Regions from separate parts of the Homo sapiens genome. Here region 1 is linked to region 2. The links are contacts of gene promoters, found by promoter capture Hi-C in human tissues and cell types (Jung and others, 2019). All regions are on one chromosome and are shown on one strand. The core of a region is centred on a gene start or on the middle of the fragment in contact, and the rest is flanking DNA. Distances in the headings are between cores, read along the strand shown.

What was found. The method cuts DNA at HindIII sites, captures the fragments that hold promoters and counts their contacts. A contact is called where the count stands out against the background at its distance.
Region 1: a fragment that was not itself captured here is called in contact with the fragment with the promoter of MROH9 in region 2 in 2 of the 25 tissues and cell types used here (aorta and hippocampus).

The regions. Positions count from the first base shown.
Region 1 is chr1:170,520,737-170,525,342 of GRCh38, forward strand. All of the region lies in intron 1 of GORAB-AS1 (GORAB antisense RNA 1), which reads right to left. Among named protein-coding and RNA genes, the nearest start is that of GORAB, 9.1 kb to the right of the region's middle. The HindIII fragment of the contact is 7,437 bases long and covers 1-4,606 here.
Region 2 is chr1:170,932,869-170,937,136 of GRCh38, forward strand. MROH9 (maestro heat like repeat family member 9) reads left to right here and starts at 2,666. Exons shown (of 22, transcript NM_001163629.2): 1 at 2,666-2,719. The HindIII fragment of the contact is 10,538 bases long and covers 1-4,268 here.

The DNA of each region.
Region 1 (4,606 bases), core at 1,487-3,986, 410 kb before region 2:
CTATGAAAATATGCTGAGCCCAAAATAGCAGTTGTGTACTGCCAGGTCAGCCTTAGTCATTTCCAAGCCAAGGGGGAATTGACAGATACCCCCTTTACAAGTCTAGTGTTTGTAAATATCAAATGAAATGACTTCATTCAGTCAATTATTTCTGGAGAAAGCTGGCAGAATAATGTGGTAATTAAACTGAGGACTGATGGAAACTATTAAACAGGAGGGCTATTTTGCCTGGCAGTTCTAGTTAATGCTTTTTATGTGTTTTTGTTTTTTAAAAATGCTTGAAATACTAGTTCACTTAAATGGAATTGCCTCTTCATTGAAATACATATTTAAAATGTTCCAGTGAAGACAGCATAAGTAAAAGACAGGAGAAACTCAATTTTCTTGTATCTTCTGAGTCATCAGTATGATTTCCTTATTTTAGATGAAATCAAAATGCAACTGTATTCAAATGTAAGTAGAACATAACCATATCCCAAAGCCAGAACACAATATAGTCAAGACTCAATTGCCTGGGTGCTGGGTATTCACTTCAGTCTGAATATGCTGTCTACAGCGTATGTTTGCCCAGTCTAGTCTAGTCTCCCTTAGGCTCCTCTAGCTGGCCACCAGCTTGATTCATCCATCCATCCACTCATTCATTCAACAATATTCAGCCACCATCTCCAGCACTGTTTCTAGTTACCTGTAATGCAGCAGTAAAAAAAAAAAAAAAAAAAAAAGTACTTTCCCACATATCTCTCCTGCCTACCTAATAGTTATGCACTCAGGGACAGACAAAAGTTCTAACAAAAAAGAACAAATTGGAATCCGAAAGCTATTGGAAAAGATCTCTGAATGCTTCCCAAAGGAAAATGCAAGCTGTTAAATTACTTGTAGCTCTTCATTTTTAAGTGATTTACATACAAATAACCACCATTTTCCCAGTCTTTGATGAATGGATACAAAGGTTTAAAAAAGGGAAACTTTTAATCCATTGGTAATAGTCTGAGAATGGATTAAGAGAAATTGGCAAAAATTAAGAATAACTTAGGAAAACCAAGCCAGAAAATTCCAAGGTAGAGGGAAACTGGAAGAGTTAATAACTAAAAACAGCTTCTGCTACACTTCATAAATATTTCTCATTTTTCTTTGTTAGAATACATATTTCTATCATATATTTAATAGTATGTGATAAACAAGCATACTGAATAAATAAGCATATTCTTTTGAAAATGCAAATATCATGGGGATGTGGAGTTAAGGACCATTAGTCATCCACATTCTGCTCATATGAGCTACATAAACATTTAATGAAATGTTTGCCCAGTTCTTAGCAAGCTTAGAAGTAATATGAAAGTAGATAGTAGTAGTTAAAATTGTAAATTCTGAAGTTATACTGCTCAAGTATTCAAGAGCTAATATTTGAATTCTAGCTCTATGACTAACAAGCTGTGAAAGCTTGGACAACTAACTTAATCTCTTGGTGCCTCAGTTTCCTCATCTACAAAATGGAATAATAGTTGAAACTTTGCTGGGACTTGCCCTTTTGACAAAAACAGAGTAAGTAACAGGGACTTAATTTATGTTTCCTTCTAAACCCAAAATAAACAAATAAATAGAATAACAATAGTTTTCAAGAGACAGGATATCAGGCAACCAAGGACAGTGATCTCTAAGAGATGAGAAAAAAATTGAGGCAAGACCTATGATTTCCCCAGTTGACTGCCTTGAGAGTCCTCAGGCCACAGCATGTGGCAGGGGAGGGACTGGACAAATCCTAGAGGACTCCTACTTGAGGAGGTGAAGCTCAGACTGCAAGAAGAGCAAGGAAACTAGAATTTGTATGACGAGGTATCAGAAAGGAGTGAGCTGCATAGAAGAAGAATCATGGAGACCAGCAGACAGTCTCCCTCAAGGTGATCAGCACATATAAGTGAGGAAACTACATGAGCCAGAAGCTATGATTTGACTGTTTGTCCCTTCCAAAACACATGTTAAAATTTAATTGCCAACAAAATGGTTTTGGAAGGTACAGCCTTTAAGAGGCGATTATGTCACAAGGGCTCCATCTGCATGGGCGGGTTTAATGCCTTTATAAAAGGGCTTCCAGGAGTGGGTTCTCCCTTGCTTGGCCCTTCCACTCTTCTATCATGTGAGGAACAGTTTTTCTCCCCTTCAAAGGACGTCATGTTTAACAGCCATCTTGGAAGTGAACACCAGGCCATTACCAACACCAAACCTGTTGGCACCTTGACCTTATATTTCCCAGCCTCCAGAACTGTGAAATAAATTTCTATTATTTATAAATTACCCAGTCTGTAGTATTCTGATATGGCAGCACAAAATGGGATAAAACACCAGGGAAAGAACTATGCAAAAACACCAGACCAGGCATAGTGCCTGTTCCCATCAATCAGACTGGAAACCTTTACAATTCCCAGAGCATTTGGTAGAGTATTCAGAAGATTCTTGCATTAGTAGCAGGAAATAATTAGTCCCTGACTAATCATTGAATAATTAGTCCTTGACTAACCATTGCTTTGGTTATGTCACAAATTCCAAAATCAAGGCTCAAAAAGATAAGCCTATTTTCAAGTAACTTAAGTGTATCTCAGAACAAAGCTCAAAAATATTTATAGGAAAAGAAAAATAGCTAGCACCCAACAAGGTAAAACTGACAATGTCTTGAACCAAACAAAAGATTACCAGTCATGCAAAGAAGTAGGAAAATAAAAATAATGAGTAAAAAGATTAATCAATTGAAACTTACCTAGAACTAACATAGTTATTAGAATCAGCAGACATGGATATTAATATTTGTCATTCCTGTATTCCATATGTTGAAAAGATATAAAAATACCTTAAATAATCAAAGATATAAAAACTATCTAAATTGAATATCTTGAGATGAGAACTACAACGTCTGTAATAAAAAAATATACTAGATTCAATTAATAAAAGATTAGACATTAGAGAAAAAATTATTAAAAATATTAGTGAACTTAAAGATGTAGCAATAGAAACTATACAAAATGAAGTAAAGAGAGAGAAAAAGATGTTAAAAATGAAATGACCATCAGTGAGCTACAGGAAAACTTCAAGTAGCTAACATGTAATGGAAGCCCCAAAAGAAGAGGAAAAAGGAAGGGAGAACAATAATATATTTAAGGAAATAATGGTCAGAAAACTTTCAAATTTGATGAAAACTATAAACCCAGACATTCAAGTATCTCAAAGAACCCGAAGTACAAAAAGAAAGAATGAAAGAAAGAAGAGAAAAAGAAAGAAAGAAAGAGAAAAGGAAAGAAAGACAAAGAGAGAAAAAAAGGAAGACAGAAAGAGAAAGAAAAAGAAGAAAAAAAAAAAAGAAAGCAAGGAAGCTACACACTATACCATGGTACATCATATTCAAATTGATCAAAAACAGTGATAAAGTAAAAATCTTAAAAGACAGAGAAAAAACACCCATTATGTAAGGAGCAAAGGTGATGATACAAATTTCTCATCAGAAACAATGCAAACTAGAAGAGTGGAAGAGAATAAAGTAATTTTTTAAAAAAAGTTAAACTAGAATTTTATGTCTAGTGAAATGTCTTTCGAAAACTAAGGCAAAATAAAGACTTTTCCTACAGATGAAAGCTGAAAGAATTAATCAGCAGCAGACCTACACTGTAAGAAATACTAAAAAAGAAAAAAAAAAAAAAAGCCCATCAGGTAGAATGAAAATGATGCCTGGTGGAAATATGAATCTACACAAAGAAGTGAAGAACACAGGAAATTTTATCTACATGTGTAAATATATATTTTTATTTAAATCTGTTTAAAAGTTAACTTACTATTTTAGCAAAAATGATAACATTGCAGTGTGGATTTTAAGACATACGTATAAATGAAAGGTATGAAACAATAGCATAAAGGCCAGGAGAGAAAAAGCAGAGGTGTATATTTATAAGGTTCTTATAGTACATGTGGTATGATACTACCTGAAGATAGACTATGATAAGTTAAAAATACATACCAAACCCTAGAGCAATTACTAAAATAACAAAACAAAGAATATAGCTAATAAGTTTATAAAGGAAATAGATACAGTCATTAGAAAAAGGAAAGAGGAAAAAGATATACCAAGGCTAATATTTAGCAAAAGAAAGTTACAGTGGCTATATTAATATCAGATAAAGTAGATTTCAGACCAAAATTAGGGGGAAGAAAAAGATCATTTCATTATGATAAATGAGTCTAAGAATCAAGAAGACATACAAACACAAACATTTATTCACCTGTTATTATTATAACAGAGTTTCAAGATACATGAAACAAAACTGAGATAACTGCAAGGATTAATGAACAAATCTACAGTTATAATAGGATATTTCTCATCTCTCAATAAATAATAGTACAAGGAGTCAGAAAATGAGTAAGGCTATAGAGGACTTAAAAACCTAATCTTGGGAGGCTGAGGCAGGCAGATCACCTGAGGTCGGGGGTTCAAGACCAACCTCACCAACATGGAGAAACCCCGTCTCTACTAAAAATACAAAAATTAGCTGGGCGTGGTGGTGCATGCCTGTAATCCCAGCTACTCAGGAGGCTGAGGCAGGAGAATCACTTGAACCTGGGAGGC
Region 2 (4,268 bases), core at 1,416-3,915:
TCTTTATAGCAATGCACCACTCCTAGGTACTAATTTTCTGTAGTAGTCTGTTCTCACACTGCTTTAAATAAATATCTGAGACTGGGTAATTTATAAAGAAACAAGGTTTAACTGGCTCACTGTTCCACATGTTGTACAGAAAGCATGGCTGGGGAGGCCTCAGGAAACTTTCAATCATGGCTGAAGGGGAAGCAGGTTCATCTTACATGGCCAAAGCAGGAGGAAGACAGAGAAGAAGGGGGCTAGAAGGAAGTCAGATGACAACAAAGAACCATAAAAAAAATTACTGGGCCAGGTGCAGTGGCTCACACCTGTAATCCCAGCAATTTGGGAGGCCAAGGCGGGTGGATTACGAGGTCAGGAGATCGAGACCATCCTGGCTAACACGGTGAAACCCCGTCTCTACTGAAAATACAAAAAAATTAGCCACTGTGGTGGCACGCACCTGTAGTCCCAGCTACTCAGGAGGCTGAGGCAGGAGAATTGTGTGAACCTGGGAGGTGGAGCTTGCAATGAGCCGAGATTGCGCCACTGCACTCCAGCCTGGATGACAGAGCAAGACTCCGTCTCAAAAAAGAAAAAGAAAATTACCAACTGAGAATTCTATATTTGACCAAACTATCCTTCAAAAAAAAAGAAAGAAAGAAAGAAAGAAAGAAAGAAAGAAAGAAAAGAGAAAGAAAGGAAGGAAGGGAAAGAAAGAAAGGAAAAATTAAGTATTCACAAATAAAGTAAGATTGTTTTTCTAGCAGATCTGCCCTACCAGAAATACTGAAGATATTGTCTCACGCTGAAATAAAAGAATACTAGCTAGTCACTCAAGTCTACACAGAGAGCACACTCATAAACTACAGAGGTAGAATAAAATTATTTGGTTTTGTTCTCCTATTATGTTTAAAAGAAAACAGCTTAAAGCAATAATTATAAAACTGGGTTGGTGGGATTATAATGTTTAAATATATGTATGTATAACATGAATATATATAATGTGCATGGCAATAATAGCAGAAAAAATGAAGGAGGAAACCAGGTATACTGGAGCAAAACCTTTGTATGTTATTGAAACTAAATTGATATTAATTCAAACTACATTGTTTTAGGCTAATGTTATAATTGTGACCCTAGAACAAACAAAGTTTGAAAATTCACACTTCTTGATTTCAAAACTTACTACAAAGACACAGAAATCACCACAGTGTGCTACCAGTATAGGAAAAACATATAGATTAATGGGATAAAATTGAGTTCAGAAATAAACCATTTTAGTCAATTCATTTTTTACAAAGATGTGGAGACAATCAGGAAAAGAATCATCTTTTTAACAAATTGTACTGAGACAAGTGAATATCCAGATGCAAAAAATAAGATAAAATTAGACCTCTACCTCACACTATATACTAAAACTAATTCAGAATGAACCAAAGACCTAAATGTAAGGCAAAAACTACAAAACTCTTAGAAAAGTTCTAAATCTAATCTCTGTGAAGTTGGGCCAGGGAATGCAGGCAATGTCTTTTTCTTTTTTTTTAGTTATGATACCAAAAACACAAGCAATAAAAGAAAAAGAATGGCAAATTTAAATTTCACTTAAATTTAAAACTTTTGTGCTTCAAGAGACACTGTCAAGAAAATGTAAAGGCAGCCCATAGAAAAGGAGGAATATTTGCAAATTATGTATCTGATAAGAGACTAGCATCTAGAACATATTAAAAAATCACAACTCAGTAATAAAAATCCAAACAGTCTAATCATAAAAAGTCACATATTGTATAAATCTATTTACATAAAATGTCCAGAAGGCAGACAGAAGATTAGTGGTTGCCAGGTACTTGGGGGAGAGGGAGGGTGAATGTCTGCTAACAGGTACAGGGTTTCTTTGGAGCTTGTTCTAAATGAAAATGTTCTAAAATTAGATAGTAATGATGGTTGTATACCTCTGTAAATATATTTAAAATGATTGAATTATATACTTTAAGATAAATTTTATGGTATGTGAATTATATTTTAATAACTCTATTATAAAAAGTGCTACAATAAACATCCTTCATGTCTCTCAGTGCATCAGTTGTATACATGTTTATACACTCTATGGACCTAGAACTGGAAATTCTGGGTTGTAGATTTTCAGTTTTGCTAGAACTTGACAAGTTTCTCTACAAACTAGTTATATCCATTTATAATCCCACCAGTCGTGTGAGAAAGTTCAACTTTCTTTTATCTTTGCCAATATTTGAAATTATCTTTTTTTAATTTTTACTTGTATTTTAGTACTTTTTAACTTATTAGCTGGGAAATAATATTTTAATGGTTTGTATTTTCATAACTTCAAGTGAGATTAAAAATCTTTTAAAATATTTATTGGCCATTCAGTTTTCCTTTTCTGTGAATTTTCTATTCTTATCCTTTGCCCAGCTTCTACTGGACTGTTGGTCTGAAGAACTATCTTTCAGTGCTTGTAACATAGAAACCAGAAACTTACCCACCCCTCAATAATGACAGGTGAGCATTAGTAGCCACTTGGGCATGCCAGGACATTCTACCACATTCATTCCAGAATGGAATCTTTGAAACATATGGTTGCCATGACGAGTGTCAACATTTCAAAGAATTTGCTTGGTTGATAACTACCTAGAGTATTTTACCTTTGGCTAAGAGGTAATATACTAGAGTTTCTCTTCACTACTTTGTCTCACCGTGATTACAGAGAAGTTACAAATATGTAAGTGAATTCCTATTAATATTTCTGTCATTCAAAAGCTTGTCTTTTTTTCTAATCCTGACTACTTTTCTTAATTTTTGTTCTGTTAAGAAAAAGAACCATGAATACATTAGAAAATTACGTTATGGCCCAGGTATGGTGGCTCACACCTGTAATCCCAGCACTTTGGGAGGCTGTGGGCGGATCATGAGGTCAGGAGGTCGAGACCACCCTAGGCAACTTGGTGAAACCCCATCTCTACTAAAAATACAAAAATTAGCTGGGTGTGGTGGCGGGTGCCTGTAATCCCAGCTACTCAGGAGGCTGAGGCAGGAGAATCACTTGAACTCGGGAGGTGGAGGTTGCAGTGAGCCGAGATCATGCTACTGCACTCCAGCCTGGCAACAGAGTGAGACAAAAAAAAAAAAAAAAAAAAAAAAAAGAAAAGAAAAAGAAAATTACATTACTATGGGCCCTCATCCAGAAATCTTGCCAAAGTTGGCAATTGGAAGAATTTGTCTTTATTCATTAATCTCCTAACTTCATGCCTTACTAGTAAGGATTATCTTATTAGTAAGGATGAGAGAAACCACAACTATATAGATAAATATATTTATTATAAGGTATTGGTTTACACAATAATAGAAGCTAGGAAGTCCTGGATTCTGCTTTCTGCAAGACAGAGACCCAGGAGATCCAATGGTGCAGTTTGAAGGCCTGAGAGCAAGAGAGTTGATGATAAAAATTCCAGCCTGGTTCTGAGGATCTGAGAACCAGAGCACCGAGGGCAGCAGATTTGTGTCCCAAGTCAAGTAGTCAGGCAAAGAGAAAACTAAGCATTCTTCTGCCTTCTTGTTTTATTCAGGCCCTCAATGGATTGGAAGATGTTGACCCACATTAGGGAGTGTCATCTCCTATCATCAGAACACCAATTTAAATGCTAATCTCTTCTGGAAATACCCTCACAGACATACCCCAAAATAATGTTTACCAGATATCTGGGCATCCTATGGCTCACTCAGTTTGACACGTAATATTAACTAACCATAATGAGTTCCCACGTTGAAAATTTGGCACCCATATACATATCCTTAAGCCATAGTTAATCTCCAAATAAAGTCAATAAGAAGCTCATAATTCCATTTAACATGTTGAAATGTAGTGGGATTGATAAGGAATCAGAGAGACCGATGGGGTTGAGAAGGATATTTATTATTTAGGTGCACCGGCCCAGTTGGATTAACCTCCAAAGGACTGAGCCCTGAACAAAGAGTTATCTTTTAATCATTTCGTGGGGTGGGGGAGATCTGTGTAGGGGGAAGCATATTACAGAAGTGAGAAACAAAGACAGTTATTCAATTAATTGAAACATGCATTACATCATTTCTTACTTTTCAAGGAAAAACATGTTTTATGACTTGAGTTTATCTGTCTAGTGACCTTGCAGCTGCACAGCTAGAGAAACAGGGTCTTCACAATGCCTGGGAAAGGAGGAGAGATAAGGCTCACTAGCCACAGAAAAACAGGCAGTTAATTTTAAAGGACTCCAGCTCTTTCTCTTTCTCTGGGG